Linked DNA regions of Homo sapiens: region 2 is linked to region 1. The links are contacts of gene promoters, found by promoter capture Hi-C in human tissues and cell types (Jung and others, 2019). All regions are on one chromosome and are shown on one strand. Each heading gives the region's core, a stretch centred on a gene start or on the middle of the fragment in contact. The rest is flanking DNA. Distances are from core to core; before and after follow the strand shown. Region 1 holds the start of SCMH1 (Scm polycomb group protein homolog 1). Region 2 overlaps CTPS1 (CTP synthase 1).

Region 1 (3,465 bases), core at 342-2,841:
AAGGACCTGAGAGTGGTCCCCAACAGAGAGCTGGCAAAACAGTGTAGCTGTGGGATCCTAGTCCTACAGGGACATGAATTCTGCCAACAGCCCGAAGGAGCCTGGGGCAGACCTTTCCCTCGTGGAGGTGCTAGACATCTTGATTTCAGCCTATGACACCACGAGCAGAAAACCCAGCCACACCATGCCAGTTTTCCGACCTACACAACTGTGAGTAAATCAATGGGTGTTGCTTTAAGCTGCAAAATTTGTGCCAATTTGTTATGCAGGAATAGAAAACTAATATGAGCACTTACAACACTGTGCTCTCATTAGCTATTGACATAATAGTTTCCCCAAATATGGGCTCCTTAGATTTAGGCTCTAATTATCCTTGTAACCTCAGGGCTCTTCATGAGACAGGTACTCCCCAAAACGCCATGGAATGAAAGTTTAAATTAGACAACAGGGATGCAGATCAGAACCTGGATAGATTCTGACCATTTCCATTTCTCAAGAATGGGCAGACGGATACTGACACCAATACCAGGATACAAGGAGGCGGCCCCCCTTCAGTCCAAAGCTCTAAGACCTATTCTAGAGGCAAGGCAAGTAATCCAGGCTCAGCTGCCCCATCTGCTGCTCCAGCCTTGCTTAAGTGGACTTCCCTCCAAGGAACATTGTTCACAGAAGGATCATTAACAAGACATTCCTGTGTGACCTGAGGATTGCCATGTTCTAAATGATGCCCACACCCACTCCACATCCAGCTCAGCAGAGGTCTCGGGATTTATATTGCACTGTATTTTCAAGCAGCCAAAACAGAAGTCAAGACGTCAGTTTCCTAAGCTGCTAAAATGATGTGGTGGTTAAACCAATTGTGTGCCAGGCGCAGTGGCTCACGCCTGTAGTCCCAGCGCTTTGGGAGGCTGACGCAGGAGGATCACTTGAGCCCAGTAATTTGAGGTTACAGTGAGCTATGATGGCGCCACTGCACTCCGACCTTGGGGACAAAGTGAGGCTCCATCTCTAACAAAACAAAAATAGAATTGTGTAGCCAACATGGCTGGTGGGCCTGGAAGAATGAGCCTGTGCATTGTACCTGGCCCATCACGGGCTCAGTGCGTACTCGTTGAAGGGATCACCACAGGGAGGACCGAGGACGCTGACACTCCCTAGGGCATCCAAGCACCAACTCATCTCTCACCTACCCTCCGGGTGCAGTGCTATCGTGTTGGAGAAGAGGCCCCTGGGTGGCTGTGCGAAGTAACTCGCCCAAGGTCACCACACGGCCAGCCACTAGCCCGGCGGGAGTCGCCCGAGGCGAGGCCCACGTCAGCCGGTCTTGGGGGCCCGACCGGTGGCTCCTCCACCAGCCCCACGCGGCCTCAGAGCGGGCTACTGGCGTCCTCGAGATTCGAACCCGAGTCCTCGGCCTCGTCCCCGCCCTCGCGCCCTCTCAGGCCTCAGTTTTCCCATCTACAGGACGCAGACCGGAGAGCTGGTCCGGGCGCCAACTGGGCCCCCGGACCCGGGTCGGCAGGCCGGCGGGGTACGGCCGGGCCGGGTTCCCGCGCGCCCTCCCTCCTCCAGCGCGCCGCCCCGCCCCCCGCGCGAGCCCAACGGCCGAGGCGCGCGCCACCTCGCAGCGGGAGGCGCGGGGGAGGGGCCGGGGGAGCCCCCGCCCCGCCCCCCGCCTCAGCCGCCACCGCCAGCTCGGTGGAGCCCCCCGCCGCCCGCCCGCCGCTCTCCCGAGCCGCCCGCCCGCCCCCTTCCCGCGTCTCCGCTCCCTCCCTGCGCAGCGGAAACATGGCGGCGGGAAGAGAGTGAGCCGCCCCGCGCCCCCGCCGCGCCCTCAGGTAAGCGCCTCGCGGCCGCCTCCGCCCGCCTAAGAGCTCGTGCCCTGAGGGGCCGCCTGGGGCCAGAAGGCGGTGGCGGGACCTGCGCAGCCGCTGCGCCTGCTCCCCCGGGCCGGGGTCAGCCTGTCCGTCTGTCTGGCCGGCCTGCCAGTCTGTGGTCCGCGCGGGGCTGGGCCCTTTCTCGGCCGTGTCAGCCCGGCCCCGAGCCCGGAGGCCGGCTCTGCATCTGCGGTCGGGCGGGCGGGGCCCACGGTCCGGTCGCGGCCCTGACGCCGCCAGGACTGCCCGGGGGCCCCGGCACGGGAAACCCAAGGCCGGGGGCCCTTTGGAGGGTCGGCGTGGGGGCGGTCCGTATAGGTCGCCGTGTCTGGCCGGCGGGGCCGGGTGGGCCGGGGCAGGCTGGCTGGGGGCCGAGGGCCGGGCGGCGGCGCGACCCCGTCTGCGCGGGTCAGTCGGTCCCCTCCGGCGCCAGAGGTGGGAATGCCTGTGATTCTGGCTGGCCGGGTCCCGGTTCGGGGAAGGCAGAGACAGAGGTCGACGGGGCGGCGTGGCCCCCACCGAGAGCTGGGGCGCCTAGGGCCCGGAGCTGTCAGCAGCGTCCTGGGGGCTGGGCCCCGGCTGGCCGACTCACGTGTGCCGCCTGCCCCAGTGCCCCGCCGGAAACGGGCAGGGAGAGCGGCCCCGCACCGAAGTGAGCCACAGCGGCCCTGGGGGCCAGACACGTGGGCACAGTTGTGTGCCAGCCCGAGAGCATCGAAAGTGGTATCCAGCCGATGGGTGAACCCCGGAATATCTCCTGACTGGAAGAGAATTTAAAAGTCATCTAGGGGCGCTTTCTCCCATCCCATGCCAAAGTGACTTTGAAAATCCCCAAATCCCCCCGATAATTTGACGAGCCCGTTTGGAACCTCTTCCAGTGATCCGAAGCGAATCTCTTTAAAGGAAACCCATTCTGTTCCTGGACACATTTGGTTATAAGTTGAAAGAAACAGCTGGCTCCCATCCTTCCTAGTTCTTTTCCCTTATGGGAAGCTGTTAAGATATCTGAAGATAGTAATCATGTCCCCTGAGTCTTCACTTCCACTTTCTTCAGTTGTCTCTCATCTGCTGTGGTTCTCTAAACTGTCCTCTGGATGAGCTTTAGTTTCCCCCATCCCCTTAAAGGAGAGTTTCTTAAAAGTGATCCTGGAGACAAAACGTAGTAAGTTTCTCTAAGAAACAGCCCCAAGGATTGACCTGCTTAAATCAAAAGTACTCTAGATTCCCTTCCTCATTTCTGTACTGTATTTTGAACTTAAAAAAAAAAAAAAAAGAAAACATTTAGTAGTGTTTGTTCAAACAAACTAAAAGACATCTTATTTTGTGGAAATTTGGGGGTTTCCTTCCTTTTAAAAAATGTCTATAAACACTTTATCAAATGTTGCTAACTAATGTACATCAAAATGTTTTGTTGAAGTGTAATGTGCCAGGCAAATAGAATAGCTCTTTTTTTTTTTTTAAACTCTGAAAAGGATTGAGACCTAGTTTAGTGCCAAACTGCAATTTTAATATTTGGTTGCAGAGGGAAATGCTTTATTACATTGAACTCTTTGCTCTAGTTCTAACTGCCAGCAGGAGGCCCAAAATT
Region 2 (3,465 bases), core at 579-3,078, 260 kb after region 1:
ACAGCTGTATGTCACACCATTGACAGGTTCTCAATAACAACAAAGAAGTAAAAGGCAGTCGGGCATGGTGGCTCACACCTATAAAACCCAGCACTTTGGGATTACAGGTGGGAGGACCCAAGACCAGCCTGGACAACACAGTGGAACCCCACCTGTACAAAAAATTTAGAAATTAGCCAGGCATGGTGATTTACACCTGTAGTCCCAGCTACTCAGGAGGCTGAGGTGAGAGGATCGCTTGAGCCAAGGAGGTGGAAGCTGCAGCGAGCCATGATCACACCACTACACTCCAGCCTGAGGGACAGAGTGGGATCCTGTCTCAAAGAAAAAAAAAAAAAAAAAGAATTCTGCTTCTTCCTTTCTAGGTGAGAAAAGTATCATTCTGCTGTATTAAGGGACCTGTTAGAAGGCAGAAAATAAAAGTTATGCAAACCGTGCACATAATTCCCAAGTGCTGACATGTTCTGCCACATGCAATTATTATGAAGAAATCCACTGTGCTTACCATGCTCATAAGGAGAGAATGTTCCTGCATCAATGTTAATGTAGGGGTCAATTTTGATTGAAGTTACATGTAAACCACATGACTTGAGTATTGTGCCCACACTGCTGGCAATGATTCCTTTTCCAATTCCTGATATAACACCACCAGTAACCAGAATGTACTTCATTTTACTCTTTGACCTGGAAGAAGGAAAAATTACAGATGATATAAATGTATCTCAACAAACCAAACTCATCTGGGTTCAAACACTGGCTCTGCCAATTATTAGCTATGAACCCTCTTGAAGCCTCAGTTTCTCTGTCACAGGACTTCAGAAGGTTCTCGTCAGGTTTAAATAGGATCAAAACAAACATTTCTTGGATCACTGAATGGCTTTAGTCAAATACGTGTAGAAAAACAACTGCTACTCTAATAACACAGCTTTTGTTTAAAGCTTTGACAACTAATAACCTTCAGAGTCAACCTAATAAAACCAGCTCTAAGCTGGCTGATAGAACACTACACCCCAAATGTTTGCTGACATCACTGCCAGACACTGGGATACCAGGCAGGTGCCTCATTATTTTCCCTACATGGGAAAAAAATTCAAACTTGGATAAGTACTCCAGTTCTCCAGGAAATAAATAATGTCTTTGGCTAAACTACAACATATCATCAAGAAAACACAGCTCCTCTAGGTTACAAAAGATAGACTAAAAGGAAAGAACATCAACATTTAAAAGTGGTTGCAGCTAAACCAAAATTCCTTTAATTAAAAGTAGTTCTCTGGCTGGGCATGGTGGCTCATGCCTGTAATCCCAGCACTTTGGGAGGCAGAGCCAGGAGGATCACTTGAGGTCAGGAGTTCGAGACCAGCCTGGCCAATATGGGGAAACCGCATCTCTACTAAAAATACAAAAATTAGCCGGCTGTGATGGCGCACGCCTGTAGTCCCAGTTACTCAGGAGACTGAGGCAGGAGAATCGCTTGAACCCAGGAGACAGAGGTTGCAGTGAGCTGGGATCATGCCACTGCACTCCAGCGTGCGCGACAGAATAAGACTACCTCAAAAAAAAAGAAAAAGTAGTTCTCTTCTATAATTTAACAACAACTTGCTCCTTGTCAGAAATCTCTCCCAGGCATGCAATGAAGAGAGACTGTAAATACTGGGGGAGAGGGACATCAGATAAGAAACCAGTCTGAAGCACATGACGGGCAGAGGACTCAAAGAGAGGGGAGATGAGATTAAATCCAAAAAGCAGTGCCACGGTGGCAGGGAAAGGAGAAATAAGATATAAGGGCAGCAGAGTCAAGATGCAGGTGAAAACAGCATCGACAAGAGGTGAGGAGACCGTGACAGGCTCACCACGGAGGATTTATCACTGGTCCCCAGCTTCAGAGGTCCAGGATCGTCCATTTGGTCAGCAAACCCAAATGTGACCAAAATGAAAAACACAATTAGAAAGTAGCAGAAAATGCTTACTTTGGCATGGTCAGGACATTTTCCTCCTCAGGAACGTTCCATGTGAAGCCAAATTATGATAAAAATAAACTAAGGAACAAGAAAACTAAGGAGTTGTGCTCGAAGCATTCCCCCGCCCCACCCCCTCCCCAGAGCAAGAAAGAACACACTTGGCAGGGAAGGAAGAATGCTCAGAAGTCTTCCCCGCTCCAAAGGCTCTTTGCATCCTCTGCTGCAGCATTTCCAAAAGCATGCTCCCTGGTTTCAACAAAATGCACATGGGATTCTCAAAAAGGGTGTTATGGATATAAATCAGAGAAACGCTGATTAAACCAAGTCATTTAACGCAAGAATCCTGGGAGTGTTTAGCAAGTAAACTCGCACTGTGATCACTGCTATACAGTATGCGGTGTCTCCAAGCTTATCTGACCCTAAGTCTCTCACTTTACAGTTCCTTATTGACACATGAAAATCAGTCTTAGGTACATTTTAGATATGTTCTAACCAGACATATACCTTACTGAGACTATACCCTGGTCTCCCTAAGTTTTGGATGATCCTAGAAATTCCTCTGCCACCGAGTGAGTTACTTCTACAAAAGATTCATCTCATCCAATTACATTTGATTTGTCCCAATTTTACTCTAAGAGTTTAACATCTCTCTTTACGTTCTTTAGTTTCTCTCTTTAGATTCTTGCAGTCTCAGTGCCTGGCAATACATATGCCAGTGTACATAAAGATCAGGCGGGAGGCTCATTCATTCATCCTTATGGGCTACTGACTTACATGACAGCTACTGTGCTTGGGGACTGCAAACATTAATCAGATTTGGGCCCATATCTCAACTTTCTGGCAGTCCAGTTGGAGAGATGAAACATTAACAAATAAATGAGTAATTCAGTGACGGTGGAAGCAGACAGAAAACATGTTTAGACTATAAAGGGGGACGATGAGAGCAGACGCTTTCAGTACCATGGCCATCAGAGGAAGGTGAGACAAGTCCTGGGGGTAGTGGGCGGATCCAGGCGGCTCCTGTTTTGTAGATATGACTTGCAATGGGCCTTGAAGGACTGACTGCACGACTCAGAGCACAGGAAAGGGAACAGGGTGAACAGGCAGGTGCAGGGCAGCTACAGAGAACAGAGGTAAGGCCGTGAGGGGGAAGGCGGGGAAGCAGGGATATACAGTGGAAGATAAACTGGAAAGGTAGGCAAGGGCCAGATCATGTGCAAACTGGCATGCCCAATCTGAACTTAATCCTGAAGGTGACGGAAGGCGCAAGAAGGTTTTCCGGCACAGAAGTAACGTAAATCAAGACGCATCAGAGAAATTCAACAAAGACTGAGGGGGGAAATGCTTTTTCTTTCAATGTTATGAGATGAAGTGCCAGCCCCCATCACTAGTGTGCAGACCTCAATCATGTCACTTGAGCTGCCTGCAACGCGGGTTCTCACCTAGGGGAATGGGGGTGAGAATCTCTGCGCCGCCCGCGTCACAGGGCCGCTGAGGATTCGAAACT

The links. The method cuts DNA at HindIII sites, captures the fragments that hold promoters and counts their contacts. A contact is called where the count stands out against the background at its distance.
Region 2: a contact is called between a fragment that was not itself captured here and the fragment with the promoter of SCMH1 in region 1, in 1 of the 25 tissues and cell types used here (fat).

The regions. Positions count from the first base shown.
Region 1 is chr1:41,240,432-41,243,896 of GRCh38, reverse strand. It overlaps SCMH1 (Scm polycomb group protein homolog 1), which reads left to right and starts at 1,591. Exons shown (of 16, transcript NM_001394311.1): 1 at 1,591-1,838. SCMH1-DT (SCMH1 divergent transcript) reads right to left here and starts at 1,539. Exons shown (of 3, transcript NR_186015.1): 1 at 1,191-1,539. RefSeq lists silencers at 1,281-1,680, 1,721-2,270, 2,371-2,530 and an enhancer at 2,851-3,030. The HindIII fragment of the contact is 24,810 bases long and covers 1-3,465 here.
Region 2 is chr1:40,980,497-40,983,961 of GRCh38, reverse strand. It overlaps CTPS1 (CTP synthase 1), which reads right to left. Exons shown (of 19, transcript NM_001905.4): 2 at 506-684. The coding sequence starts at 671. Among named protein-coding and RNA genes, the nearest start is that of CTPS1, 2.5 kb to the right of the region's middle. RefSeq lists an enhancer at 3,268-3,317. The HindIII fragment of the contact is 3,158 bases long and covers 250-3,407 here.